Regions from separate parts of the Homo sapiens genome. Here all the other regions are linked to region 2. Evidence: promoter capture Hi-C in 16 types of primary human blood cells and fetal thymus (Javierre and others, 2016). All regions are on one chromosome and are shown on one strand. The core of a region is centred on a gene start or on the middle of the fragment in contact, and the rest is flanking DNA. Distances in the headings are between cores, read along the strand shown.

Region 1 (2,877 bases), core at 337-2,836, 370 kb before region 2:
CCAAGATCTCTCATTCTTCTCAATAACCTTGGGCAATAGGGAATTTTCCACCTTGCAGGGGAAGACGCTGAGGTTCTGGGAAGAGAAATGGCTTGTCCAAGGTCACACAGCCAAGTCAGTGAAAGAACAGGGAGCCAGGATGTTTTGCACCTAAACCCTGGATTATGGTTTCCTCCCCACCTGCTCCCCCAAGATAAGTCCCCCAATCCCTTCCCATTGCCTTATTATACTGGGGATGAGGGTTGGGGTGGAGGAAAAAAGCAAATTTCACTCCAAAAGTCAGTGTTTTCGTTATCCATGAAAATAGATGGAAAAGCTGAACTGTGGCCCACAGGAAGAGGGGCCTGGGGGCCTGGCCTCCTGGGTCTGAGGGAGGAGGGGGCTGGGGGCCTGGACTCCTGGGTCTGAGGGAGGAGGGGCTGGGGGCCTGGACTCCTGGGTCTGAGGGAGGAGGGGCTGGGGGCCTGGACTCCAGGGTCTGAGGGAGGAGGGGCTGGGGGCCTGGACTCCAGGGTCTGAGGGAGGAGGGACTGGGGACCTGGACTCCTGGGTCTGAGGGAGGAGGGGCTGGGGGCCTGGACTCCTAGGTCTGAGGGAGGAGGAACTGGGGACCTGGACTCCTGGGCCTGAGGGAGGAGGGGCTGGGGACCTGGACTCCTGGCTCTGAGGGAGGAGGGGCTGGGGGCCTGGACTCCAGGGTCTGAGGGAGGAGGAGCTGGGGGCCTGGACTCCTGGGTCTGAGGGAGGAGGGGCTGGGGGCCTGGACTCCTGGGTCTGAGGGACGAGGGGCTGGGGGCCTGGGCTCCAGGGTCTGAGGGAGGAGGGGCTGGGGGCCTGGACTCCTGGGTCTGAGGGAGGAGGGGCTGGGGGCCTGGACTCCTGGGTCTGAGGGAGGAGGGGCTGGGGGCCTGGGCTCCAGGGTCTGAGGGAGGAGGGGCTGGGGGCCTGGACTCCTGGGTCTGAGGGAGGAGGGGCTGGGGGCCTGGACTCCTGGGTCTGAGGGAGGAGGGGCTGGGGGCCTGGGCTCCAGGGTCTGAGGGAGGAGGGGCTGGGGGCCTGGACTCCTGGGTCTGAGGGAGGAGGGGCTGGGGGCCTGGGCTCCAGGGTCTGAGAGAGGAGGGGCTGGGCCTGGACTCCTGGGTCTGAGGGAGGAGGGGCTGGGGGCCTGGACTCCTGGGCTGAGGGAGGAGGGGCTGGGGGCCTGGACTCCTGGGTCTGAGGGAGGAGGGGCTGGGGGCCTGGACTCCTGGGTCTGAGGGAGGAGGGGCTGGGGGCCTGGACTCCAGGGTCTGAGGGAGGAGGGGCTGGGGACCTGGGCTCCTGGGTCTGAGAGAGGAGGGACTGGGGCTAGTCTCCTAGGTCCATGGGAGGATGAGATTGGGACTTGAAGGAGGAGGGAGCTGGGTTTTAGGAAGTATCCCAGACTCCGTGTTCTGCGGATGTGGTGGAAAGACGTGGGGACGCCTGGGGCGGGAGGGGTAGGGGCCGGGCCGCAGTAACAAAGGCCTCTCCCTCCAACAAGCAACCCCCCCTTGACCCCGCCTCCCCGGCCCCCCACCTCTCCTGATTGGCCGGTCTCCCTGCCCGTCAGCGCCGCCCCCCTCCCCGGGTCTGCAGCAGCTCCAGCCGCCTCGTCGCGCCCCCCCAGCCCCCTCCCCCCGCCCCCGCCGCCCCCCGGGCCGGTGCAGCGCAGGCGGGGTCCCCCTCCCCCTCCCCCCTCTCCCCCCAGGCCTCGCGCGCCCCGGACCGGCCCCCCCTTTCCCCTCCCCCTCCGCGCCGCCTCTGCCGCGATGCCCCCCCCTGCGCCCGGGGCCCGGCTCCGGCTTCTCGCCGCCGCCGCCCTGGCCGGCTTGGCCGTCATCAGCCGAGGTACCGCAGCGCCGGGGGCGGGGGGCTCGGCCGGGACGCCAGGGTCTTGGGTGGGTAATCGGGGGATCAGGGGTGGGGGTCGAGGGCTGCATCCCTGGGCCGGCGCGGGGAGGCCCCGGGACGCCGGGGTCTGGGCCCGGGGGTGGGGTCTGCATTCCCTGGCTGGGCAGGGGGACCTCGGACGTGGGGGTCCGCGCCCCGGGGCAGGGGTCGGCGTCCTCGGGCCGGAGCCGGGTCTAGGGGCGGAGGTCTGCTTCCCCGAGCAGGCAAGAGGGTCGCAGACACCTAGCCCTGCCTGGGGGCAGGAGTCTGCGGCTCCTGTTGAGGAGGGGGCAGACACTGGACTCGGGGTCCCCGGGTCGGATCTCCGAACTGAGTTGGGGTGGGGGGCAGGGGATAATGCCCTGTTAGGGGTCTTCATCTGTACGTGGAGAGGGTCCCTGAAGAGGTCCTTGCCGGGGGCTGGGGTAGTCATCTCGGGACAGAGGTCAGGGGATGGATGCCTTCCCAGGGTCAGTAAGAGGAGGGGACAAGGGTGTCCACAGACCTAGTCCCAGGGTCAGGAAAAGAGGGGAAGGGTCTGAAATCCCCCAGCAGGGTCATCTAGGTTGAGAGAAAGTGTTGGTACTTGGGGAGGTTGCAGTTATGTGGGGGAGAAGGGAGCTGGAGATACAGGAAGTTGGGGTGCTGGGCTGGGGTCTTGGATTCCCAAGCTCTGATTGAATGTCTAGGTTCGTGGGGCTGGACAGTGGAAGAGCGATGGGCATGGGAGGATGAAGGAAAGACGGAAGGGAAGGGTTAAAGCAGGTTGAAGGGTTAACCCCGGCCCGGCCCGGCCCTCCCAGTTGGGGAGAGGGCCAGGGGCAGGTTTCTGCACTGAGGTTAGATAGCTGGACCTTGAGTCTCCCCAGTAGGGCCTGGCAGGCAGGGGGTGGTCAAGGAGATTCCTAGATTTCCCCCTAAGAAAAGGGAGGAGAGTGCAAGGAGGCAGGAGGCTGGAGGGTGGGC
Region 2 (2,985 bases), core at 88-2,587:
GCAACTTTGGAGTGGGTGGCTTTGCGAGTCCTAGTGTTTCAAGGAGAAACACTTCCACTAAAGGACCCAGTTATGGTTTCAAGTGGAAGGAGAGGCTGCCTCTTGGCCATTTTGGGCAAGTCATGATGCTAAACCATCAGGCAGAGAAGGAGGTACCTTTACTAAGCTAGTAAAGGTACCAATTGATCCAATTATTAGGAGAAAAATATGTTGTTGCTATACAGTGCAATCAAGGAGAATTAGGAGTGGAACCGAGACTATTCCGTCGGGAGGCTTTTTATACTCTGTCCAGAATAATGGTCAATGGATAACTGCAGCAGTGCAATAAAGACGAAGCATTAATGACTTGGATCCTTTGGGTCACTCTACCAGATAAAAAATTCCAAGGAAACGAAGTGCTAGAGGAAGGTAAGAGAGACACAAAATGGTTATCAATTTAGGCTTTATGACCAGCTATAGAAGCAGGAACTGCAGCTATTATGTTTTATGGTAACTAATTGTTTCTTTCCCACTTCAATTTCACTCTGATATCTTACATGAAGAGCACTTTTCATGGCTGTTGTTACAATTTCAGTTTCAGAAGTATAGCAGGAATGACTTCCCTCTGCAGTAATAGTAGAACTAATACTGGGCATCTCTGTGTTAAGGATGTGAGCTTGTTCATCCAAACAAAAGAACGTAATGGGTGCTCAGTGACAACAGGGATGACCTGTGCCTCTTCAGATCCATCATTCACTTGTCTCTGCTCATTTCTGTGCACTGACAGGCTGACCTCTCAGGACCGCATCATCAGCTTCCCCTTGCCAGTGGGAGGCACTGTCCGGAGATTGAAGGGTGGGAGGAAAGAAGTCAGGGTTTTTATTCCTCCTGTTCTCTCCCTACAGTTCTGGCCGTGGCTGCATTCCTCTGTGCTACAAGTCCTATAAGGCAGCCCATCCTCCAAGGCTACTGCCCTTGCCCCATCAGGTCTAGGCTGGTACCCGTTTCCCACTGCTGCTTGTCCTTGGATGCTGCACCATCTCTTTTTGGACCTCTTAATCCTGCCTACATCTCTATTTAGTCCCTTCATTGGCCTATGTTTATTATTTATTTATTCATTTATTTATTTATTTTGAGACGGAGTCTTGCTCTGTCACCCAGGCTGGAGTGCAGTGACGCGATCTCGACTCACTGCAACCTCCATCTCCCGGGTTCAAGCAATTCTCCTGCCTCAGCCTCCTGAGTAGCTGGGACTACAGGCGTAAGCCACCGCTCCTGGCCACTTTTTGTATTTTTAGTAGAGACAGAGTTTCACCATGTTGGCCAGGCTGGTCTGGAACTCCTGATCTCAAGTGATCCGCCTGCCTTGGCCTCCCAAAGTGCTAGGATTACAGACGTGAGCCACCGTGTCCGGCCAAGTCTATGTTTAATTAAGCTCTTGAATGAGCCATCAGCTTCCTATTCGAATCCTGATGGATACATCCATATATTTACCACCTGTTTCCTCCTCGTACCTCAGACCTTCTACCTGGGATCATTTTCATTCTATGATCAAAGTACATCCATGAAGGAGGGTTTCAGTTTGCTTTTACCATATGCCATAGTACCAGTTTGGTGCCACTTTTACTTTTGTTCCTTTCCTCTCAGGAGACTGTTGAAAACTACAGCTCATTTTTATAATCAGAATAAGCCTATGCTCATCAGTCAAAAGCAGGTTTGAATGCTCTGCTTAGTTCTTGGAGTTCTCACTTTCTAAATTTTAGCTAGGAAATTCCTCACTAGATTGTCTTTCCATTATTTTATAAAGATTGTTTTGAGTATTTTATCCGCCACTTTTAATGACTTTCAGCAGAGGAGTTGATCCATATAGCCTGGACTGCCATTCTCAAAAATGAGAAAGTTCTCCCCTCTCTTAGGTTTTTTTGTTTTCCCATAAGATTTTTGCATTTGCTTGCTATTTCACGTAGGCTGTTGGGAAGAATGTCTCCTGAAATCTTGGATGAGAAATATGACAATAGAGAAAGACAATTCACTTTCAAGATATCAAAATACTATTCATATAACAGAAAAACAAAAAAGTATTAATATTAGCCATCTATTGTTACCTAGGGAATTATTCCAAAACTGAGCATCTTGATACACACTTATCTTACAGTTTCTGTGGTCAGGAATCTGAGCACAGCTTAGCTTGGTCCTTGGCTTACGGTTTCTCACTAGGTTGAAATCAAGATGTTGACTCAGGGTCTTCATCCTCATCTGAAGGCTCTACTGGGGAATGACCCACTTCCAAGTTTATTCATTGGCTTTTGGCAACATGCAGTTCCTCACAGGGTATTGGAATGAGAGCCTCAGTTCCTTTCTAGCTGTTGGCAGGGGCTTCCCTCAGTTCCTTACCTCATGAGTCTTTCAAAAATGGCAGCTCAGAATATAGCCACTTACTTGATTAATACATGAAAATCAGAAAGGCAGTAGAGTTTGCTAGCAAGACAGAAGTCACACAGTTTTTTGTAATCTAATATTGGAAATGACATTCCATCACTTTTGCCATATACCATTAGTTATAAGTAAGTCACTAAGTTCATCCTTTGGGGAGGAGGTTACACAAACACATGAATATCAGGAAGTGGAGATCATTGGGAGATATTTTAGAAGGCTGACAACCCCGCAAAAATAATTTCTGAATTTCCATCTGTATCTCAGCATTCAATAGCTATGCACCTGTTTCAGCACATTGGCAGGAGCAAAACAATAGCAAAGTGTTTACAGCATGTATCGTGTGAAATACATCCACTCTCAAAGCACCTTCGTTTGGCTATTTCTTCAGTAGGTTCATCAAATAAACCACTTTTTTTCAAGCAACTCTCAGTTATCAGTACGTCCTGCTGGGTGGGTATTGTCATCTGCAGAGTACAGTATCGGCTTTTTGTTTAAGTATTGCTTTGAACATGGAAGAGCTGCTTTGTCATCCTGTTTAAAAACCTCATAGGCATGCAATTCCAAGGTCTC
Region 3 (2,906 bases), core at 305-2,804, 260 kb before region 2:
AGCAGCACAGAGGAGCCGCAGGAACTGGCCTTTTTGGGCTTCCAGGTATGGGACATTTCCCTGGGGCTGGGGCTCCAGGGCTGGAGTGGGAGGAAAAAAAAAAAAGAGAGAAAGGGAGGGAGAAAGAGAGAAGGGGTACAGGGAGGAGCACATCCCCTCATCCCCTGAAGCCTTTTCATCTAAAGACAACTGGCCCAGCCCCAGCCCGACGGCCCTCAGTACCTGGCGTGTTGTCACGTGAAATGCTGATAACAAGGTCTCTGGGGGCATCTGCAACAAGATTGTGAGCTGGCTTCAGGGAGGGACAATTTATTCCTCACACCTGGAAAAAACTCCCTCAGGGAAAAGAAAGTGGGACTATCCCGGGAAGACAAGTGACAACCAGCGCCAGGGCTCACGTGTGTGGACCAGACGCCATTCCCATCCCCCTCCCAGGGCTGCGGCGGCATCCTGGGACCCCACAGCTTCCTCTCCCTGGATGCTCCTGAGCTGGGAGCCGCTCACTGTCCCACTGGGCTCCTCCACCTCCCCACCCACCGGGGCTGTCTGCACACCCCACCCTCCCAGGCCACACTCACAGGCCACACGGAGTCGGACGGTCCTCTGTGCGCTCACACCCTTTCTGGAGAAGTCCACATGGCAGGTGAGGTCGGTGTTGTGGTCCTGGGGTCTGGGCGTGAAGCTGAGCACTGAGAAGTGGGAGGTCGTTGGTTTGGTTCCTTGGGAGGAGAGGGCAGCCCCCGTCCAGGAGAAAGAAGGGGGTGGACATTCCTCAAAGGCCCAGTTAAACACACAGATGACCGTCACCGGCTGCCCGGGCTCCAGGGTCTCGGGGATGTAGACATCAGGCTTCTGAGTCAGGGCTGGGACAGAGACCGTGGTGGGAGATTCTTGTGCTGCAGGGGTCCCTGAGAGCCCTCTCTGCTCAGCCCATAGGCTGTCCCCAGGGTCCCTCCCCAGTGTGAGAGGCAGGGGTTCCCACCCCATTCCATACCTGTTACTTTTAGAAAGAACCCATCGTTCATGAAATTATATCTCACATAGCTTCCTCTCTCCACCCGAAAGAAGTACTGTGACTCATCCTGCATCTGCGCGTCTCTGATCACCAAGGAGCAGTTCCCCTTGGCGGGATCCCCAGTGAGCTGGAATCGGCCCCGGGTGCTCATTTCCACCTCTCGACTCTGGTGGTTTGTGGCCACAGGAGCACCCTTGGTTGTCTCAGTCACTGCTTTGAACCAGTAGCCATAAGCTGGGGTAGACCCTGTCCAGTCCTGTCGGGGGTAGGAGAAAGAGCAGGGCACAGAGATGCACAGGCCCTCCGGCACCATCACTGACTCCTGCACTCGTATCCAGAATCTCCCATCCATAGCCTGGGACCCTGTGGGGAGACAGAGGCTCAACCTGCAACCCCAGCCCTAGCTCCGCCCCAGGTCCTTTCCGGCCCTTGGCCCACTCACCGCCCAGCAGCGAGGACAGCAGCAGTGGCAGTAGCATCTCCGCATAGGAGGCGCAGGGCCTGCCTGAGACAGGCCTGTTCTCTGGTCGTGCTGTGAGTGGCTCAGGGCTCTTGGCAGAAGGGGAAGCCGAAGGCGGAAGCTGAGCCCTGGGGCCTGATGCATGAAATGAGCTTCAGACGCTGAGCTCACAGAACTCCTTTGCCTTCCCCCACACTCTCCGGCCCACCTTGCCCAGTTGTCCTCTGGGTCTCCTGGGGGCCCAGCCTGGCCTTGGGCTTGTTGAGCTGGTCCTTCCAGAGCTCCCTGTGTAGGAGGAGAGGGCAGGCTTGTGTCTATCCTGGGGGCCTGGCTGGGGGTGGGGTAGTGGGGTGGGGGCTCTCCCTCTGGGCCCTGGGTCATCGGAAAAGCAGAAGTGAGAAGTCCACAGTGAGCTACCCTTATCTGGGCCACTGGTGGTGGAGGTGGTGGGTACAGGGGAAGGGACCGTTACTGGAGGGGGCTGGTCTTGTCAGGTAAAATGCAGGATGCCTGGTTAAAGCTTTCACAGACAATATAAAGTATTTTATTTTATGTTTTTTGGTATAAGTATGTCCGAAATGCTGCATGGGATATACTTATACCAGAAAGCAAAATAAATTTATCTGAAATTCAAATTAATTAATTAATTAATTATATTTTGAGACAGAGTCTCACTCTGTCACCCAGGCTGCAGTGCAGTGGTGCAATCTCTGCTTACTGCAACCTCCACCTCCCAGGCTGAAGTGATTCTCCTGCCTCAGCCTCCTGAGTCTGGGCTTACAGGCACGCGCCACCACGCCAAGCTAATTTTTGTATTTTTAGTAGAGGTGGGGTTTCACCATGTTGGCAGGGCTGGTTTTGAACTCCTGACCTCAAATGATCCACCTGCCTTGACCTCCCAAAGTGCTGAGATTACAGGTGTGAACCACCGCACCTGGCCTAAAATTCAAATTTAACTGAGCATGTTGAATTTCTTTTTTTCTAAATCTGGCCACCGTAGGGTGGTGTCAGCTCCACCTCTTCATGCTTCCTGGTGAGCTCACTGACCCTTGGTCCCCAGAAGCAGTCTCCTGCCCCAACCAGGCCCTAGTCCACTTCCCAGTCTCCCTTCCTCCTCTGTCATTCAATTGGGACACCCATTGGGATTAGAACACATATGTCCAAAGCTAATGCTGATGGGAAGAGTTTGAGGAAGGCGGGAGTGAGGGGCAGAGTGGGGGGAACAGACTAGGGAAGGGGTAATTTGCAATGAATGGAGTAAACTCTACAAGATGTTTTCCCCTCACTGAGCTCTTCCTGAAATGACTCTGTTTGGGTCACACCGAAACACAGAACTCATCCTTCAACCTCCACATACCTTGGGTATCAAGCACTGAGCTTTAGGGGGACTTGGAGGTGAATCCTCCATGGTGAGTCAGCTCCAGGGCCCCA

The links. Contacts are between HindIII fragments. The CHiCAGO score rates a contact against its expected background, and 5 or more counts as called.
Region 1: a contact is called between the fragment with the promoter of IGLON5 here and a fragment that was not itself captured in region 2, in 1 of 17 cell types (naive B cells). The highest score is 5.7, in naive B cells.
Region 3: the fragment with the promoter of SIGLEC10 here is called in contact with a fragment that was not itself captured in region 2 in 4 of 17 cell types (erythroblasts, megakaryocytes, endothelial precursors and 1 more); the score reaches 7.6 in erythroblasts.

Annotation. Positions count from the first base shown.
Region 1 is chr19:51,310,058-51,312,934 of GRCh38, forward strand. IGLON5 (IgLON family member 5) reads left to right here and starts at 1,587. Exons shown (of 8, transcript NM_001101372.3): 1 at 1,587-1,869. The coding sequence starts at 1,791. The HindIII fragment of the contact is 5,776 bases long and covers 1-2,877 here.
Region 2 is chr19:51,677,149-51,680,133 of GRCh38, forward strand. No RefSeq gene overlaps it. Among named protein-coding and RNA genes, the nearest start is that of MIR99B, 14 kb to the right of the region's middle. The HindIII fragment of the contact is 6,463 bases long and covers 1-2,985 here.
Region 3 is chr19:51,416,088-51,418,993 of GRCh38, forward strand. SIGLEC10 (sialic acid binding Ig like lectin 10) reads right to left here and starts at 1,555. Exons shown (of 11, transcript NM_033130.5): 1 at 1,458-1,555; 2 at 995-1,378; 3 at 579-863; 4 at 223-270; 5 at 1-80. The coding sequence starts at 1,494. It overlaps SIGLEC10-AS1 (SIGLEC10 antisense RNA 1), which reads left to right. Exons shown (of 3, transcript NR_164125.1): 1 at 1-45; 2 at 342-643; 3 at 1,045-2,110. RefSeq lists enhancers at 1,485-1,654, 1,715-1,784. The HindIII fragment of the contact is 3,908 bases long and covers 1-1,993 here.